Regions from separate parts of the Homo sapiens genome. Here all the other regions are linked to region 3. The links are contacts of gene promoters, found by promoter capture Hi-C in blood cells and fetal thymus (Javierre and others, 2016). All regions are on one chromosome and are shown on one strand. The core of a region is centred on a gene start or on the middle of the fragment in contact, and the rest is flanking DNA. Distances in the headings are between cores, read along the strand shown.

The links. Contacts are between HindIII fragments. The CHiCAGO score rates a contact against its expected background, and 5 or more counts as called.
Region 1: a contact is called between a fragment that was not itself captured here and the fragment with the promoter of APP in region 3, in 11 of 17 cell types (megakaryocytes, endothelial precursors, naive CD4 T cells and 8 more). The highest score is 12.3, in megakaryocytes.
Region 2: a fragment that was not itself captured here is called in contact with the fragment with the promoter of APP in region 3 in 9 of 17 cell types (endothelial precursors, M0 macrophages, megakaryocytes and 6 more); the score reaches 7.8 in endothelial precursors.
Region 4: a contact is called between a fragment that was not itself captured here and the fragment with the promoter of APP in region 3, in 13 of 17 cell types (endothelial precursors, naive CD4 T cells, fetal thymus and 10 more). The highest score is 9.6, in endothelial precursors.

The regions. Positions count from the first base shown.
Region 1 is chr21:25,934,478-25,939,275 of GRCh38, forward strand. The region is part of intron 13 of APP (amyloid beta precursor protein); the gene reads right to left. Among named protein-coding and RNA genes, the nearest start is that of GABPA, 200 kb to the left of the region's middle. The HindIII fragment of the contact is 409 bases long and covers 2,580-2,988 here.
Region 2 is chr21:25,952,602-25,958,022 of GRCh38, forward strand. APP (amyloid beta precursor protein) reads right to left here. Exons shown (of 18, transcript NM_000484.4): 12 at 3,026-3,154; 13 at 1,989-2,088. Among named protein-coding and RNA genes, the nearest start is that of APP, 220 kb to the right of the region's middle. RefSeq lists an enhancer at 2,063-3,262. The HindIII fragment of the contact is 2,405 bases long and covers 2,875-5,279 here.
Region 3 is chr21:26,167,322-26,172,744 of GRCh38, forward strand. APP (amyloid beta precursor protein) reads right to left here and starts at 3,449. Exons shown (of 18, transcript NM_000484.4): 1 at 3,243-3,449. The coding sequence starts at 3,299. It overlaps APP-DT (APP divergent transcript), which reads left to right and starts at 3,546. Exons shown (of 4, transcript NR_186396.1): 1 at 3,546-3,731. RefSeq lists enhancers at 1,952-2,161, 2,660-3,184 and silencers at 2,202-2,471, 2,972-3,801. The HindIII fragment of the contact is 2,642 bases long and covers 1,293-3,934 here.
Region 4 is chr21:25,972,723-25,977,776 of GRCh38, forward strand. It overlaps APP (amyloid beta precursor protein), which reads right to left. Exons shown (of 18, transcript NM_000484.4): 10 at 3,232-3,306; 11 at 2,348-2,506. Among named protein-coding and RNA genes, the nearest start is that of APP, 200 kb to the right of the region's middle. The HindIII fragment of the contact is 3,688 bases long and covers 1,681-5,054 here.

The DNA.
Region 1 (4,798 bases), core at 1,534-4,033, 230 kb before region 3:
CAGGCTGGAATGCAGTAGCGTGATCTCGGCTCACTGTAACCTCTTCCTCCCAGGTTCAAGCAATTCTCCTGCCTCAGCCTCCCGAGTAGCTGAGACTACAGGCGCCCGCAACCATCCCCGACTAATTTTTGTATTTTTAGTTGAGACGGGGTTTCACCATATTGGCCAGGCTGGTCTTGAACTCCTGACCTTGTGATCCATCTGCCTCGGTCTCCCAAAGTGTTGGGATTACAGGCGTGAGCCACAACACCCGGCCGAATGTGGTTTCTTAGTGAGTCCTTTACTCAAGGCTGGAATTAAACAAAGGAGATGAATCACGAGCTCTATGATAATAGTCTAATAGTCTAATCTAGCCCTCTTAAGTGCAGAGATGTTTTCCCTCTGAACACCCGTGTGTTTCAGCTCTGTTCCTCTTCCAATGCCCTTCCACAGGGAACAAATCCTTTCTTGACCACCAATGGCTGCATGACTTATCCTGAGAAGATCATGGGGATTTTGGATGCCAGGTCAACCCTTACACTCAGCAAGGAAGTGGAAGGGCCTCAGTTTCAAACACTTTGTAAACACAGAGGTTAGGTCATTTCCTCTCCAATAAGCCAGAAGCTGAGCTGTCCCTGGCAGCAAACTGTGTGTCAAATGCCTGGCGGGTTTCAGGTTTTACTAACTCCAGAGTGACGAAACATCACCACCTCTAATGCCAGAAAGAAGTCAGCTGTTGTACCTGTGTCACAACTAAATTTACTGAAGTCAGGGCAGCTGAAGTAATCTATAAAACTTAGCATGTCAATTTCAATTTAGCGTTCACATTCAACAAATTGTGTATTTAAAAAAAAATCTCCAGTAGTCTAAAAGTTTTCATTTTATTCTTGTGTAAAATCTGGAAGACTGGAATAGAATGTTTTATGGTATGAGTGTTTAGTAGCAACATTAGGTTAACTGTGACCTTTTGGCTCAAGACATGAGAAAATATAGCTAACAATGCTTGGTTATGGGTTTGTCACACTATACTTTGTTATACTATCCAGCAGTATCCACCTGCTTTAACAGTGTGGATACACTAAAAACTAATTTAAAAAAATCTGGGCTGGGCGCGGTGGCTCACACCTGTAATCCCAACACTTTGCGAGGCCGAGGCGAGTGGATTACAAGGTCAGGAATTCGAGACCAGCCCGATCAACATACTGAAACCCCGTCTCTACTAAAAATACAAAAATTAGCTGGGTGTGGTGGTGCGCGCCTATAATCCCAGCTACTCAGGAGGCTGAGGCAGGAGAATCATTTGAAACCGGGAGGCGGAGGCTGTAGTGAGCCGAGATCGTGCCACTGCATTCCAGCCTGGGCAACAGAGTGAGACTCTGTCTCAAAAAAAAAAAAAAAAAAAAAACCTGTCAAATCCCTCCATACAAGTGTATGCACTTCACATACCAAGGAGGTCTAGGATTTGAAGTTCATCAAGGCCGAGTTTAGGCTGCCAGACCACAACCTCGTTTTAATGCCTTAGGTGCAGAAACAGGAGAAATAATACCTTCCATGCCTCCCCTGACTAGCTTTAGGATAAAGAAGCTGTGCACTAAATAGACAGTAGCTGAGGAACGATGAAGAGGATCTACCCAAAGTATGAATAAGCCAACTGCTATGGATCGAACTGTGTGCCCCTGAAAATTCATGTATCAAAGCCCTAACCCTCAAGGGACCTTTGGAGATCAGACCTTTAAAGAGATAATTAAGGTTAAATGAGGTCATGGGGGTGTGACTCTGATCCAATAGGACAGGTGTCCTTATAAGAAAAGGAGGAGGCCGGGTGCGGGGCTCACGCCTGTAATCCCAGAACTTTGGGAGGGCAAGGCAGGTGGATCACCTGAGGTCGAGAGTTCGAGACCAGCCTGACCAACATGGAGAAACCCTGTCTCTACTAAAAATACAAAATTAGCCAGGCATGCCTGTAATCTCAGCTACTCGGGAGGCTGAGGCACGAGAATCGCTTGAACCCAGGAGGTGGAGGTTGCAGTGAGCCAAGATCGTGCCATTGCACTCCAGCCTGGGCAACAAGAGCGAAACTCTGTCTCAACAAAACAAAAGAAGAAGAGGAAGAGACACCTCTCTTTCTCTCTGAGAAAGACCATGTGAGGACATGATGCGTAGGTGGCCATTTGTAAATCAAGGAAGAGAGGCCTCCTCAGAAACCGACCTGCTGGTACCTTGATCTTGGACTTCCAGCCTCCAGAAGCATGAGAAAAATAATTTCTGTTGTTGAAGGATTCAGTCTGTGGTATTTTGGTATTTTGTTATGGCAGCCCTAGCAGACTAATGCATTTATCTAGTCACACTCAGACAAAAGAAAGAGCACAGGTCAGAATAGCTTTTTCTAGAGGATTCTGTTTTCTTTCTTTCTTCGGCTTCTTTTTCTTTTTTTCCTGAAGGCAATAGCTGAATCTGAGAGTAACAAGGGGCTCACCAGGGATGTGCAAGGAATTTCTTGTACTGCCCCTTTCATGGAAATGACAAGGAAGTGATTTATTTCAGATGTGACTCAGTTCAGGATTTGAAAGCACATGTGACAAATGGTCAAGTAAAGAAAAAGCTTTTCTTTTTCTTTACTTGACCATTTGCCACGCAAGTTCCCAAGTTCTTCCTCCCTATCTTGCTTCATTACAGGCAGTGGGAAAAATCCAAACAGCTTCCCCCTGTGTCTGGGACATCTCCAGCTCTGTGGTGTATTTACTTTGAAGGAACAAAAAAGGGGATAGTATATGACTTCCATCCCAAGTCACTATAGGATATACTTTAAGAAACAAGGGAGTTTAAATTGCTCTGCTGTATAACCTGCAAAATTCATCTCCTACTGCAGAATAGAGTGAGTTGCTTCTCAGGATTCGCACCTGGAGTTGGTATTCAGCACATGTTTTCTTTGTAACATTTCTGTCAATTCTCTAAAAAGACCACACTTTTTGAGCTGGCACTAGGCTCTCTGACAATCTTCCAAGACGAAGCTTTTACAGTCCATCATTTACAATGCTGACAACTCCAGGCACATTTTGTCAATTTTCCCTTTCATCTCTTATTAAAATAAAATAATATCACTTTGGATTTGAAGAGAGCCTAAATGGATAATTCTTTAAGCAGAATGTCAGTATCAATGATAGAAAGGGAAGAATCTAAGAGGGAGGTAAATGTTCTATAAGTAGAGAAGTAGGTTCACAATTTCTGAAACAGCAAATCAAACAGCAAATGGGGGAAAGTTATGAAAGGCAGAATTTTGTGACTCAAGCCCATCTTATGCTTATACAGTTTTTTGTTTTTGTTTGTTTTGAGATAAGGTCGTCCCTCTGTCACCCAGCCTGGAGTGTAGTGGTGCCGCCAGGCCTCACTGCAACCTCCAACTCCTGGGCTCAAGTGATCCTCCAACCACAGCCTCCTGACTAGCTGGGATTACAGGTGTGTACCCCTAAACCCAGCTTATTATTTTTTTGACTTTTTGTAGAAACAGGGTCTCCCCATGTTGCCCAGGCTGGTCTTAAACTCCTGGGCTCAAATGATCCTCCTGCCTCAGCCTCCCATAGGGCTAGGATTACAGGTGTGAGCCACCATGCCTGGCCTTTTATACTGTTTATTCCCTTTAGATACAGTTAATGGACATTAATAAGCAGTTTATGCCAATCCCTTTTCATAGCTAATAAGAAGTCTTATCTTGGATAAATAAAACCTAGCCACTAATGCTGCCACACCCAAATAAACTCTCTATGCATCTGAACTTCTTGAGGTTAATAATGCTTCATTGTAATATTTTATAAAATCACCACTTTGGAAGTGAACACCACTAGAAATTCACATGGCCAGTTTATAGATGGGGACTGGGGGAAGCAGGGAGGATCTCTGCAATCCAGTAGTTAGGCTCTGCCAGAATGTATTTAGAGTTGTCTCTAAATACATTCTGAGTCTCTGCTTCATTTTTTTTTTCAATGAAAATGACAATGTCTGTCATCCCATGTTCAAGACAAATATAACAAGTTTCTAAGAATCCTTATATTTTTGTTATTGCATATAAGCATGAGTTTTAAAAACCTCTGAATGTTTAAAGGATCACCTGGGGGAATAAGAAAAATGCAGATCTCTGTAGGTCTGAGGTAGAGCCCAAGAATCTGTATTTTTAACTAGAATTCCTCTAAATTACTGTGCTTCACTTGGCCCCAATTACACATTAGGAGACAATGATTTCAGGATGACAATCAGCCTTTTCCATCCAAGGACTTAAAGCAGCTAAACCGAAGACACCGACAAATACCAGATACTTTTCTCAGTCTACTGGCTGATGGCACAAAAGTGCAGAAGTCACGTAGGGCAGTATGGAAAGCTCGAGCTAGGACTGGAGTCAGCGAGAGACGCTAGCTTCCCCTGTTCGTGGATTCCGAAGCCTCAAGCCCACATTAACAAGGCCTTAGACGACAGTAAACACCCAGACTCAGGCTCCTACAGAGGGCCCCCAGTTCTGCTCTAATATACCTATTTTTCTTTAAATAAAAAACATCTGATTTTTGCACCCCAGGTATTTAAAGACACACTTTGATTTCTGAAAGGCTTTTGACCACACATGAGGAACTCCTTGGGCCTTGACCATTTTTAGCACTTTCACAGTTTCTGATTTTGATCAAGCCACTTAATCACCCAGGATTCTGAATCTGAAAACCAGGAGGGTTTAATTCCACTTTCATGTTCCCTTGAGGAGCTGTTGGCAGCAGGATGAAGGCAGGTCCATACAGAACATGGGAAGGAAGCCAGGAAGCCAGCTTTTCCTTTCACA
Region 2 (5,421 bases), core at 2,827-5,326, 210 kb before region 3:
GAGTCAACAATAATTGCTGGGTGAGGGTGGAATATTGGTCATCAACTTTTTAGTCCTTTGTAATGGCTTATTTCCCTATAGTTATTACCTATGCCACTTCAACTGAAGTCACATGTGAAAACAGGCTTAAGATAGCTGTAAAAAACAAACAAACAAACAAACAAACCATGTTTTCTAGAAGATTTTAGCTTCAGTTCATTAAGACTGATAAATTATTTCATTTTGTACCTTCTACAACTTTTTGGAGAACTTCTTTACACTTATTTAATACATAGTATTTTAAAGGTTCCTTACTGATGTCTATTCTCCAAGTATACCTGAAAAGTATATTTGTTTGCTAAAGAAACTTGATACAGTGAAAAATTAATTGGAGATCTCTGTTCTCAATTCATGGTGTAGACTAAAAACTCCACCTCCACTATCTTCATAAATTCTTGCTCAACACTGAGTTGCTCCTTCTGAACAAAAGCTTGGCACACTATGAAGTTGCTTTTTTTCTCTTCTTTTTTAAATTAGAGAGGGGGTTTCACCATGTTGGCCAGGCTGGTTTCGAACTCCTGGCCTCAGGTGATCTGCTCACCTTGGCCTCCCAAAGTTCTGGGACACTGCACCTCCCTGACATATGAAGTTTCTTCTGCAAGTTATGTAGCTCAAAGTATAATTTCAGATTCCGTCCATTAATGTGCAGTACTGAACAGAACATCATCACTTGACACATGCCAAATATTTCACAGCAATACAAACAATATTTACAAGGCCACATAAATCAGGAAAGAATGAGCAGAATAACACTGGCATAAAATGGGAAAAAGTGAGGGCCAGCTGTTCCCTTGAGCGGTGTTTCAGGCACTTCAAAGTCGGACTTACTGTAATGGGTACATCCATCTACAACATCCTGGGTGCTCTGATTCCAGATGATAACCTGTATCTATTTCCAACCCAATTAACAAAGGGTAGGATTCTTTATGGGGAAGGATATGCCAGATACATATTGCTTATATGTTGGTAGACTACACACTAAATCTCCAGTATAGGTACATATGCTTATATTGAAAGATGCACCAACATAATCGTCATCTATGTACCTTTGTGAAGTAAGTTAAACAGTTATGGGCATTTTGGCAGCTGACAGAGACTCATGTGGTATTTTATTCTCTTTCCAAGAGAAACAGAAATGAGAGATCTTAAATGAAATCATTAGTCATTAGGAAAACTAGGGACATAAAAGACAGTGGGCACACAAGGTCAGTTTCCTGGTTTTGATAATGGACTATAGTTACGTAAGATGTCACTGGTGAGGCATGTGGGTGATGGATGCATGAGACCTCTCTGTACTATTTTTCCAAGTTCTTGTGAGAGTACAATTATTTCAGAATATAAGTTTAATAGCCCACTATCTTTTAAGTTTAAACAATGATGTGGTTCAGAGAACACTCATGGCTTCCCTGCTCAGCCATCAAAGAGAATTGTGACTTACTGAATATAACAATAACCTCAAAGTCACAAGTCACAGTTATGTGTTTTGGCTGTGCTACTTATAATGCATGTGACACAGGCCAGTAAGTTACTCAAATTTTAAGTTTGAGCTTTTTCATTTGTAAGATGGAACAATCGTGACACTCAAAAGATGAAGAATGAGTTTTTTTCCCCATTAATTGTAAAGTACCAAAGCATCATAATTTGAGAGCCATAACAAGATTGGGCAAATTAGAAAAAATGCTGCCACGTATAATTCAATAACAAGTGTCCAATTATTACAAAACTATACCCTAAGTCAGGCGACATTCCTCCAGTCTTACAAGTATGGAGAGGTAAGAACTGATTCAATTGCTAAGGCTAGTAAGCTAGTTCCAGCCTGACAGTTTCATCGTAAAAGGCAAGCTGTTCTATTAACTTCCATATTCCTCAAACAGATAACTCACTTCCTCAATTTTCCTCTGGGGGAAAATACATGTCCATGTGCAGCATCAAAAGAACAGCTTACTTACCAACTTCATCCTGAATCTCCTCGGCCACTGCAGGCACGTTGTAGAGCAGGGAGAGAGACTGATTCATGCGCTCATAAATCACACGGAGGTGTGTCATAACCTGCATCAAAGGATGACAACTCCAGGTCAACAATGTCTGGGGGTAGGAATGGTTCTTTTTCTTTCTTTTTTTCTTTTTTTTTTGAGACGGAGTCTCGCTCTGTCGCCCAGGTTATTTTTCTTACCAAGCACTGCAGGTAGATACAAACTTCCAAAAGAAAACTGACAAAACACTGCTACTGTTAAAAAGGTTGAACTGAAAGGGCAACTTTATTTTTCTTGTTCTCCTATTTCTGTTCTCTAACTTTTTGAGCTCAGGTTTAAGACTTGATCTTGAAACTTACCATTATCTTGTATGCTTATAACAGCCAATTAAAAAGGCTACCTCTGCCACCTCTGATTCCTAATACTGAGGCTCTCTTAACAGGACCCTCATGCCTAAATACATTTCTTTGCAAATTTCCCCCTAGAAAACAACGTATTTCAATTTGATTGGCTATTTCATGCTATATATATTTAACTCTTTCATTCAAGAAAATGTAAAATTTCACATTTCCTAAGGTAGATCCCAGTTTTCAGCCTTTGGGAACCGGGGAGTATAAAATACATTATTACTGGGCTTCATTTAGGCTCACATGAAATCTCAACATTCCAGTAGGTTTATGATTGCCTGCCATACTTCAGTTGAACCAGTTTTCAAGATTTTAGTTTATACAACTTTTGTTTTTCTCATTTTAGTCATTGGTTTTAATCAGTTCCTTAGCAATCAGTTAGCAGTAGACTAAGATTTTTACATTTGTTATTTTCATAACTCAGAAAATGCCAAACCACATATTGCTCTAAGACAAGCTTTTAGAATTTACCAGAAGTTAAAGAGCTCTTGCCATAGGGAAAACACCTATAGGTGCTCGGAGAATGCGTGGGATCCTGTCACCAACCCAAGAAGCAAGAATCCTGGATTGTCAAAGCTGCAGAAGATGATTATACCCCACGCTTACCTGGGACCGGATCTGAGCGGCTTTCTTGGGATCCACCATGCGCACATGCTCGAAATGCTTTAGGGTGTGCTGTCTGTCCTTCTGTTCTGCGCGGACATACTTCTTTAGCATATTGAACACGTGACGAGGCTGTGGGAGGAAAATGAAAAACTCTTTTTCAAGTTTGTGCAAAACACTGCTTCTTCCATTGGCGATGGGTTAGAGGTTCCACTAATGCATCCGGTCATGTGAACGTACTGTGAGTCACCTTTTTGCAGGTCTGCCTTCTAAACATTTCTCCTACTCCTTTCTTAATGGGTAATTACTTAGATCGGCTGCTTTTCACTTCCACAAGAGCATTTAACATTCTCGACATATATGATGACTGTCCTCCTTACTCAACATTTTCTTTTTAAATAGGAGTACTCTGCTATAGAAAGAGAACAGATTTGAGGTCTGTCAGGTTAAGTTAGGTCCTTCTCTTTTCGCACCCAAGGGGCATATGTGAGACTACATTGCTACGTGTACATTTTGAAGACCAGAGGTAATGTCACACAGATAATCCCATCACCAGTAACATGTAACATACGAAATCAAAATGAGAAAAACAGGAAATTTAACCACTATTTTGTAAGCCAAGGAGTAACTGAACTGTAAGAGACATTATATTTTTCTAGGAGAAAGGCCATTGCTAAACTGTATTTATTTTACTCTGAAATTTAATTAAGTTCTTTCTAAGCTATCAGATTCTAATTCTTTCAGCAACAATTACATTTCGTCTTAAGTGCTCCTATTTTCTTTCTAATTGGTTCCATTTCATTTTTATTTTAGTTTTACCTGAAAACATCCATCCTAATAAAAACTAAGGACAAAGATTCCCTGGTCTTCAACAATTTCATCACTATATGCATTCCACTACATGATTTTGTAAGATGATTTCCAAAAACACAACATTTCTTCTTCATTAAAACAAACAAACAAAAAAACCAGTTGTGAAAATTCATGTTGGGAATAGAATTTTGGTCATTTGGGCAAACCTAGCTATTATTAACCCATGTGTCATGAGTACCCTGAAAACCAGTTGGAAGGTACAAAATTTATTCCAGAGATGGTGTGTGTGGTGGTGGGGCGGGTGGTAATGGAGCTTTTGTTGTGTTATCCATATCCTATGGGATGTGCCTCTCCTTCCCCTTTTGCTTAGTTAACTTAGGAGCCATCTCCCTGCCATCTCAGGTGGAACGAGGTACCCTTTTTCTGTGCTCCTATGAAATACTGTGCAAATCCCCATTAATGTACCTAACTCATTAAATTATCTATGATTCTTACTCCCCTCTTTAATGTGAGATCCACAGGGCTGGATTTGGTCTTTTTTCTTTATTTGGAACCCCAATAACACAGTGCTTGACCCAGAGGGTGCTCTGTATTTGCTTGGTGAATGCCTGCCACAGAGGCCATGCTACTGTACTTGAGAAAACAAATACATATACACAATAAAAATAAAACAACTTGGGCTCATCTGCCTTCTTTTTTCCTAAAAGAAATGTGCTTCTCTATAATCCCCAGAAAGACAGCCATCACAGCTTGCAACAGTTCTTGGCAACTTATTACAACTCTCATCTGAACTGTGAAATCTGGTTGAATTTACAAATCAGAGGATGACCTTTTAAATCTCAGAAGAAAAGTAGTAAAAGAGGTAATGACTGATAAGCTATATCTCTATATATTGAAAAGAGGATAGGTTATACATGTGAATTAAAAAAAAAGAACATTTGAAAACATCAGAGATTAAAGGCTGACTCTTGTTGATTGTGAAGGATATTTGATATGCAGAGTTGTGTGATCAGGATCTTGCACAACCACCCTCGATGCTTGCTTGTTATTAAGCACCAAGGTCTTAGAAATCTCTCTAGTTCTGTTACCATTATTCATCCAAGACTGGAGACAGAAGGGGCTGTGACTAATCGCATTTAACCATGATGTTCCTTCCTGGCCTTCATGGATGCTTTCTTAGTTGCTCTATTTCATTTTTCTCCCTTGTAAAGGATTTATTGTTTTGAAGAAAATGGGATGAATTTTTAAGAGTTTAAATAAGAAAAAAAAAAAGCACTTCAATTAAAAAAGTAAGGATTGCTTTGGGAGTCTGAGGCAGGAGGATCACTTGCAGCCAAGAGTTTGAGACCAGCCTGGACAACATTACAAGAACCTGTCTCTACAAGAAAATTTTAAAAATTAGCTAGGTGCAGTGACACATGCCTGCAGTTCCAGCTACTTGGGAAGCTTGGTCAGGAGGATTATTTGAACCCAGGAGGTTGAGGCTGTAGTGAGCCCTGATTGCACGACTGTACTCAAGCCTGGGAAAGAGAATAACTGCCTGTCTTTTAATTAAAAAAAACAAAAAACAAAAAACAAAAACAGTA
Region 3 (5,423 bases), core at 2,199-4,698:
TTTAAATTTAAAATGCATCTGTACAGGTTTATCTTTACATTTGTAATTGATAGAGATTTTAAAAGAAATGTATTAATGAAAGATGCTTTGTAAGATTCTCAAGGTAATACAATTTGCAGAAACAATGTACATTTCTACTGAATTTAATGCACTTCTCACTGATAGTTTAGTGGCCACGTGAAATGCAAGTAATAGCTATGCTTATTTCCAGAATGACTGACAACATTCATACAAATATCTGTAGAAGACTCTAGTATGCAAAAAACAGTAACATAAAATAGAGATCCTCTAGCAACAAGACTTAACATAAAGACAACCTCTCCCATTCCTTCAAACCAATATTGTTGATCACGTTATTTCTTTTTAATTTTTTTGAATCAGCCATTCCTCATTTAACCTCGTGAACTTGCATGTTCCTTTTCATTTCCTCAGTCAGGACCAGTATTATTCCATCTAGTAACTTCTCCGCAGTACTAATAGCCTTGCAAATGTCGTTCAGGAGCCTCTGCTGGTTCCGGTGACAAGAGAAAAGCTTCTGCAGTCTGCCAGTTATCATGGTTTCTCATCGATTAGCAAGAACCGTGACTCCTTACAGATCACCATCAAACCTGAGCTTTACTATTCTGTGTGTCGGCTTCTACCTTTAGCGAGGTACTAGTCAGTAGCAGCAGGTTTCCATAAACTATAAATTAGCACTACCACAAAGGTAAGATGATTGTGACTAGGTTAAACCCTCAACAGAGGGAAATAAAACTTAAGAGGAAGCTAGATTTAAAAATAAATAAATAAATAAATATTAGGGTAGTGAAACATCATATAGATTAGGGTTTGTTAAACTCACACCTCTATCAACATACCAGCCAAAATCATCAACCCAGATAATAACCATGTTTCCCCCGATAGCCAAGGCCCCATTATCATTGCCCTTATTCATTTCTTTTCTACAGCCACCTGCAGCAGACCTATTTTCTAAGCTCTATAAAAGACAGTCAACTCGTAATTACATCTTTTCAGTGGACACAGAGAGAACCAGATAAACCACCCTCAAACCTCAGTAGACTGAATTACCTACCCTTCTACCAACACTTCGCAAAATGGCATAATGTGAATCTCACCTCCACCCTTTAAAGGAGTTAACAATAGCTACTGAAAAGGTCCCAAAAGATGGCAGAAAGAGCATATTAATGCAATTAAACAGACCAAAAACTAAATTCGAATCTGCCTACATGCTTCCTCTTTTTATACAGAAAGAAATATTGCTCAACAAAGTTACATATTTAAGTTTTGACAAAAGCTTCAAAAATACGGTTATCATATGCTTTTAATTCCTTAAATGTATGGTTTTTAATCTGTAGTAAGACCATTCGGGAAAACTGGAATAATTCTACAAATAAATGTAAGTAAGTCATGAGAGAAATCAGAATTCTCTTAGTTAAGTGCATTTTTTTAAAACATGGAAAACGAAATTCTTTAACTCTTAAAACAACCTGTCTTAACTAGCCCTAAGGTGATTCCTGAGCCACTTGTGGGTAAAAATCAGAAGAGAAAAAAGTTCAATGACCTTGCAAATTAGAAACTAAAAAACTAATGGTGTGATAGTCTGTACAGCCTCAGTGGAATTACAGGAAAACATCTGCCCGGAAATTGCTTTTTTTCTTTTGGAAAATTACTAGGAGGCTGGGGGAAAAGAGGGGAAAAACGGGTAAGGAAGGTTGCAAATGTTAAGATGCCAAACAGGAACCCAACCGAAGTCCGAAGTGAAATACAGCCTCCTCTGGCCCAACTGTCATGCAAACAACTTCTAAGCATCTTCAGATGTAAAGAAAAACAGTCATTGTGCACAGGCGTTAGCTGAATGTTCGAGAGTTGGATGAATGGGGAAGACTTGTTATACACCTAGTGGTGGGTGGATTTCACTAGGCTGCAGCCTCCACACAGCTTTTCTTTGCTGCACTGCAGAGGCGCCATCTTCTCCGTCTTAATCTTCACTCAATTCGATCCTTTTATCTGCACCCTAAAAAAAAGACCCTTCGGACCCTCCCCAGCATCCTGTGCCCCCAGGGGAACTAAACCAGAGTCCCCAGAGCTGCCAGGGAAGAGGCCGCGCCTTAATCAGACAAACGCCTCCTTGGATGCACAGGACAGAGCCCGTGCCTCCCCACCATCCGCCACTGCCCTTTCCAGACGCACATCCCACTCTCCGCCTTATTTCCTCCCCGCCAAGGACTTTACAGCCCAGCACAGAATTAAGCCTCGGAGGTGATCCGAGGGTGGGAAGCAGAGGGGCCCCGAGGCTCCGCCAGAAGCCCCGGCAGCGTCTCTGCCCCCTCCCAGGCGGACGCGCAGCCCCGGGAAGGGAGCCGGGCGGGAGCCTCGGTGGCGCACTGAGACTAACGCGGCTCGGCCCACGGCGAGGGCGGGGTGTCGCGGCTTTTGTTCCCGCGGACCTTCTGCCTCTCAGACAGAGCTTAGGGTGCGAGCGAACTCCCGGGACGTCCAGACTTGGGGAAGGCGCGGGGTGGCTATGGGTCTCCGACCCCTCCCATTTCTCGCAAGTTACACAAAAGGGAGACGCGGACATGCACAAAGTTTGCCTGTGGAAGGCGGTGCGCGACCCCGACGCCGGCTCGGGCTAGGGTCGCACCCAGGCTGCCGCCGCCAGCAGCCGCGAAAAGAGGTTGGAGCAAGGAAGGGGGATGGGGGTGAGAGAGGAAGGTGAAACGAGGCGGAGAACGCAGGGAAAAGCGAGGGGCTCCTAGCTTCCTGGGCTGTCCCGACTCCTCCTCCTCCTCCCCAGGGCCCAAGAGAAAGGAAAGGGCAACGATTCAAGAGCGAAGGACTGGCTTTAGGGACGCTGCGTTTTCGGTTTTCCCCACGTGCTCCTTCCCCCTTCCCCCCTGTCTGAATGTCTCTCGCCTCCCCCGACCCCCGCTTCCAAGGCAGGGACTAAGTCGGGGTCTGGGCTCAGGGTCGCCCCCTACCCTTCTCGCCCCGGGCTGGCGCGGAACCAGGGAGACCAGCGCCTCGCCCGCTCCCTCTCAGCGGGCCGGAGCGCGACTCCCTGGGGCAGGGCTGGGCCGAAAGCGGGGATGCGCTGGACGTCCGCAAGCGGGGGCGGAGAGGAGAGGGGTCCCATTGACGGACCCCCGGCTTCTCTGCATTAAAGACTTGGGTTAAGGTCTTGGGGGGTATCGCGTCCCCACCGTGCAGCCTCCCCCCGCCTTCCGAGGCGCGGCACCCACCTCCAGCGCCCGAGCCGTCCAGGCGGCCAGCAGGAGCAGTGCCAAACCGGGCAGCATCGCGACCCTGCGCGGGGCACCGAGTGCGCTGCTGTGCGAGTGGGATCCGCCGCGTCCTTGCTCTGCCCGCGCCGCCACCGCCGCCGTCTCCCGGGGCCCCCGCGCACGCTCCTCCGCGTGCTCTCGCCTACCGCTGCCGAGGAAACTGACGGAGCCCGAGCGCGGCGGCGGGGCTCAGAGCCAGGCGAGTCAGCTGATCCGGCCCACCCCGCTCGGCACCCGAGAGAGACCCCTAGCGGCGCCGCCGGGGAACTGCGCCCGCTCGCGCCGGGAGGGGCCCTCGCGCCCCGCGCCCACAGGTGCACGCGCCCTTGGCGCCGCCTGCACCCCACGCGCCCCCTCCGCTCCCCGGCCGACGGCCCACCTGGGCTTCGTGAACAGTGGGAGGGAGAGTCTGGGGCCAGGAGAGGGACGGTGCAGGATCAGGGAAAGGTGAGTCCTAGGACGCTGAGGCTCTAGAAAAGTCGAGAGCGCTCCTGCTCGTCCCCGTGAGCTTGAATCATCCGACCCCGCAGGCCTCCCGGGGGTGTCGTATAAAGGACTGCTGCTAGGGTGCGTTTTTATCCGCATTTCGTTTTTTCTCTCGGTTTGGAGAGGTGGGGCAGGCGTTTCTGGAAGAGAATGAGAACGAGTGAAGCTTAAAGGAAATAGGATTTTCTTTGCTTGTTGAGACAGCAAAACCTCATTTTTTAACCCCCAACGTCAAAAGCAGGCACGAGCAACCTGGAATTTCTATCTTTAGAACGAACCAAAGGAGCAAGGCGCAGGACCTGGCAAAGAAGCGGCCAACCCATTTACTTCTTCTTGAAAGCAGGGTTCTGGGCTTGGGTTTTGTTTCTTTCTTATATTTTTGTTTGTTTTTGGTTTTGTTTTGTTAAAGGGGGTGGTCAGTGTGGATTTTGCGGGGCGGGGGGTCTTTTTTTGTTGTTAAGCAGGGATGTAACATCCATCTGAGTTGGGGAAGAAGGAAAAATTAGGAGAGATCATTCGTATTCGACCCCCGTAAATGAGGACTTCTGACCTCAAACGCTGCCCTTGTTCTTCATTGTGTCTGTCCTGAATTATAGAAATGAACCTTCTGCCATGCCACTTTCTCCTGGATTAAACACAAACCGTCCACTGTCCAGTTAGTGTCCAGATAGTTTAGAATGCTCTAGAACTGCCCAGATATATCCCCTGCTCTTGACCTGAAGTAGCATTTAGTTACCAAGCCACAGCCCACTCCACACAGGGCTTGGAGCGAAGGACTGAAGCCAGGGAGTGCTCTGGCCCTTCTGAGGGCTGCACTGCAGCCTGCCTTCTCTCCCTTGCTCATTGCGCTGACAAGGGTGCCTAGGCCCGGGAAGGATGGCTCAGCCAGCGGGGTACAGACTTCCTTCCTGGGAAGTCATTTCTGTACCAGCTCCCCTAAATGTTGTCTTGTGTGTCTTTTCCCGCACTAGGCATTCAGTCTTGACTCTTGGATTACTTTTGCCCCTGAATGTCCTTTGGATGTCCTCAACAAATAAGGACAAATATTTATTGTCATGCAGTATTTGTTTATACGCTTCATGTCATTTACTTCCTACAAAAGCCAAAGAGGCTGTTACTATTATTCCTATTTATACATCAGGAAAATGAAGCTAATGAACTCCCAAATCTAATAGCAAGTAAGTGACATGAAGCTGGGACAGCAGGGAAAAGCCTAAAGTGACAGGACAAACCCAGTTGTTCACTTTCTGCACCACATTTACCCACCGCAATTCCGTATTTGTTCCGGGTCTGCATGAGCAAATAAGGCAAAAAAGAAGGTATCTGAATGCAAAGAGAAACGTGGTCCAAAGCTACAAATCTTGCAGAGTCCACTGCAAAATGCAAACGTGAGACCCTTTGTTACATTATTAAGAATTTTAAGGCCGGGCCTGGTGGCTCATGCCTGTAATCCCAGCACTTTAGGAGGCCCAGGTGGGCAGATCACCTGAGGTCAGGAGTTCTAGACCAGCCTGGCCAACATGGTGAAACCCCCATCTCTACTAAAAATGCAAAAATTAGCCGAGCGTGGTTACTCCTGCCTGTAATCCCAGCTACTCCAGAGGCTGAGGCAGGAGAATCGCTTGAACCTGGGAGGCGGAGGTTGCAGTGAGC
Region 4 (5,054 bases), core at 2,275-4,774, 190 kb before region 3:
CTCTCAGGCAGAAGGAAAATGATACCAGCTGGATCTGCGCAAAGAGTTTACAGCACCCAAAATGATGACTTCATGGGTAAACATGTTGTTTTTTTTTTAAATTTACAACTCATTAAAAAATAACTGTTTAAAGAAAAACATCAACAATGTAGTAAGGAAAAAGTATGACAACAACCGCTTACAGAGAGAGAGAGAGATGAAAAATGGAAGTACTTTTGTAAAGTACTGTCTGTGGAGTGGTATAATATCATTTGAACTGACATAACATCATCGTGACAAGTTTAGAATGTTTTCTATAAGCCTAAAGCAACCAGTAAAATAACAAACTAGTTATAACTTATAAACCCACAAAGGAGATAAACCAGTAAAATAACAAACTAGTTGTAACTTACAAACCAACAAAAGAGATAAAATAGAATCATAAAAAATTTCTAATTAATCCAAAAAAAAAAGAGGAAAAAAGAAGAACAAGGAACAGACTGGACAAATAGCAAACAAATATCAAGATGACAGATTCAGTGACAACCATATCCATAACCTCATTCAGTGTACATGGTCTTCCCAATCCAAAGGAAAACGCAAGACCCAATTACATGCTGCCTACAAAAAATACACTTCAAATATAAAGACAAACAAGGTCAATAAGAGTATAAGGATGGAAAAATGCACCACATTAATATTAATCAAAAGAAAGCTGGAATAGCTTTATTAATATTAAAGTAGATTTTGGAGCAAAACATTACAAAGGATAAAAAGATCATTTCATAAGAAGAGGCTCAAGGAGGGCCTAACAGCCTGGAACATTTACACGCCTAAAAACACAGCCTCAAACTATACAAAATAAAAACTGATAGCACTGTTTAGAAAAATGGCCCGGTCCACAATCACAGGCAGAGCTTTCAATATCCCTTGCTCAATGACAAACAGAAAGAACAAATGGCTGGGCATGGTGGTTCACGCCTGTAATCCCAGCACTGTGGGAGGCCGAGGTGGGTGGATCACCTGAGGTCAGGAGTTCGAGATCAGCCTGGCCAACATGTTGAAACCCTGTCTCTACTAAAATACAAAAATTAGCTGGGTGTCGTGGCTCACCTGTAATCCTAGGTACTTGGGAGGCTGAGGCATGAGAATTGCTTAAACCCAGGAGACAGAAGTTGCAGTGAGCTGAGATTGCACCACTGCACTCCAGCCTGGGTGACAGAGTGAGACTCCATCTCATTTAAAAAAAAAAAAAAAAAAAAAGAACAAGTGGACATAAGTTACACACTCATGCTCAGAAAGTTCCTTCCATTCCAAGTAAGCTCTCCCACAGAATGCCGGTGAACACATCTATGCCTGTACCACTCAACATGCCTTTTTGGGGCAATGATCACTGAAAACCATGAATAAGTCTCATCATTGCTAATGTCATGACTGACAAATGCTTCCCCACAGAGAATATGGCCACTGCTCTGAGATGGAAATTTGAGTTCTAATTCTTTCTGGTCCACTAAAAATTCTTACAACTCAGCCAAATCTCAACTTTCCTTGACCTTAGTTATATTATTATACTTACATGATGAGGGGGCTGGGCAAGGTTACTTCTAAAATCCTTTGCCATGGTCTGAATGTTTGTGTCTCTCCCACCCCCAATTCATATGTTGAAACCTAAGCCACAGTGTGATGCTATTTGAGGGTGAAAGCTTTGGGAGACAATTAGGCATGAGGGCAGAGCCTTCAAGATTGACATTAGTACCCTTATAAAAGAGGGCCCAGAGAGCTCTCTTGCCCATTCCACCATATGAGGATACAGCAAAATACAAACAAAAACAAAAATAAAATAAATAAAAGATAAACAAAATTTAAGTTCTATGAACCAGGAAGCAAACTTTCACCAGACAACCAAGTATGCTGATGTCTTGATCTTGGACTTCTCAGCCTCTGCAACTGTGAGAAATAAACTTCTGTTGCTGATAAGGTACCCAGTCTATGGTATTCTGTTACAGCAGCCTGAAGGGACTGGAAGACATCCTTCCAGCTTTTGTGTTCGAACTTGAACTATGCCATCAATTGTCACCACCTCAGGAATATTAAATCAAGTCAGGGCTTGCAATGTGAGTCCCTGGGAGTCCTGTCTGGCTGCTCTGTGGGGAAGTGTGAGTACCTGCTGTGTAGAGATGACCTTGTGGAGGTAGCTGCCCTGTGACCCTTTGACCTTCAAGATGGAATGGACAGGGGTTGAACCTCTGAATAACAGTGCTCAAGGCATTTCTCCTCATTCTTTTTGTATGGCTTCCAGTTCCCAGTGCCCCACCCTTACTGTCTGTGCTGTGACCTGAAGTGTGAACTCGGCTGCAGCGAGACCTACCCGAGGAGGAACAGCCTGCAGAGCGGTGATGTAGTTCTCCAGGGCCAGGCGGCGGCGGTCATTGAGCATGGCTTCCACTCTGGCCATGTGTGTCTCCACCAGCTGCTGTCTCTCGTTGGCTGCTTCCTGTTCCAAAGATTCCACTTTCTCCTGGAAATGCTGCCATCATAAACACATATGTCCATGGGGACTGAATAAGTAGGATGAAGCAGCAATTTCAAGTCTTCTAAAAAAGACATCCTATTCCATTTTCTTCTAGTGCTAAAAAGTATCCTAAAGACTGCATAGTCATTCCAACATTGACTAATTCTACGTTTTATAGCTTACTTCACTTTCTTGCACTCTCCAACCCTCATCAAACCTACTTTCTCATTGAAAATCAGTATTTCATAGGCTCTCTGAAGGCTGATTTGACTAATAACTTTGGATAAATATATGCACTCTTGAAACTCTTATATTACATATTAAAAAAAAATCCCTCTCTTACTAACAGTACCTCAAGTAATTGACCATAATAAACTGTTGGTTTACTTAAGGTAATTTTGAGACTGGTTTCCATCAAAAATTCAAATTCTCATAATTTTTGCTGGAGGGAGAAGCAGCAGAAGATTGTGGTGACTGAAAAGATGTATTATTAATAAAAAGTAGATTGCAAGTTACAATGTGAGTTTTATGGCAATGAATTATAACTTGAAATAATTGGGAGCAAATATAAGGCAGGATTTAAACAACTCAATTACTAGACAATGATTAAGAACAGCTGAAGTTCATGGGACTATGAACAATCACACGTGAGGTGCTGGCAGATAAAGGTAAACCTGCAGACACTCATTAAAAAGACTGCTGGCATGTGATGTTTGGTAGGAAATGGGTTCAGGTTTTACCTGGATAACTGCCTTCTTATCAGCTTTAGGCAAGTTCTTTGCTTGACGTTCTGCCTCTTCCCATTCTCTCATGACCTATAAATTAAGGAAACATTTGAATTTAAAATCATCAGTTCATCCTTTGAATACAGACTTAATAGGATGGATGATTATGTTTTTCCTCTATTTTTGTCATTTTAGATATTTAAAAAATTTATTACATACCCCTTCCTATCTGAAGAATATTTGACCTCCCACTAGGATATAAATAATTAATCACAGCAGTATATTAAACATAAATGTTCATATTTATTGCAGGAATATAGCTTTTTGAGTCAAGGTTGGTCTTTTTTTACCCCGAGAACTGACAGTCATTTGATTTGATGTGAACAAATACCAACTATTCATGGAAGGCACACATTAACTGAACAAGGTCTTCCAATATTAAACTGAACACCTAAGTTTTACTCTCTTATGAAAGCAACTGAAACCATTTTAAACTGTATATTTTGACTTTAAAGAAAATATGACATTTTATGTGTGTGTGTGTCATGAATACAATGCCAAAAAGCAGTACATAATGGGGGAAGAAAAAGAAGACTTCTGCTGTCTAATATCCTAAGACCTATCCCCCTTTAAAGAACTGATGGGGAATTAAGGCCCTTTGAGCTTGCCAACCTAAGTCATGAACAGCAAGGATTACGCTAAGTCCTTCCAAAAACTCCAAGAAAACATGTAATATTCTGAATGCAGCAAACATGTATTTTTTTACAAGTAGCACTAATTTAGTAACCAACTGCTATGGTTTGAATGTAACCCCTAAAAAGCATGTGTTGGAAACTTAATCCCCAGTGCAACAATGTTGAGGGGTAAGTCCTGTAAGAGGTGATTCAGTCTCTGTCCTCATGAGTAAATTAGTATCATTATGGGGGGAGTGGGTTTGTTATTGTGAGAAGTGGGTTGTTATAAAACTCAGTTTTGCCCTCCTCTTGCCCTTCTTCCTTCCACCATATATGATACAGCAAGGAAGTCCTCAACAGATGCCAGCACCATGTTCTTGGACTTCCCCACCTGCAAAACTGAGAGCCGAATTTTAAACTTCTTTTTCTTTACAGATTATCCAGGCTGGGGTATTCTATTATAGCAACACAAACTGACTAAGATATCAGGTGAATGTGTTTTGTAGGAAATCAATGCTTCCTGCTCTCAACTTTGATGTTCACCTGGATTTCCCTGAGAGAAGTTCACTCATTAACCTGATACAAAAAGTAAAAGTCTGCACCTCTGTATGTTGTTCAAAGAAAATATTAACTTCCTACCACCTACAGCTGCCTTTTCAAGTGTATGACAAGTAGAATTTGTTTGAAGTGCAACTCTGAACTAGGTAAAATGAAGAAAGATCAAGGAAACAAAATATTGGTTTGGTGCCAGATGTGTACTTGCATACTCTGTGTACTCCCAAAGCATGAGAAAACTTGATTACTGTATTATAAGAGCCTGTTTTTTGTAGGTACTTAGCCTTAAGGAATAGACTCTTCTAACATACTTCAAGATGGGAAAGAAAAAGAGGCTTGGAATAAATAACTATAGATAGAAGACTTCTATGAGACAATACTATATCAAATCACCATGTGGGTTCCTAATTACAGATTTTATTGTCCATTGGCATTCATTCTTTGTATATGATAGGCAATTAGCTTCTTCTTGTTGTTTTTGTAAAACCATGGAGGAAACAAGATGGAATAAATATTTCATTACACTTGAAAAGCATATCAAAAATAATCTCAAGGTTCACAGCAAAATTGGGACAAATGCCCTGCTGCAATGAACAAGAATAGAACATG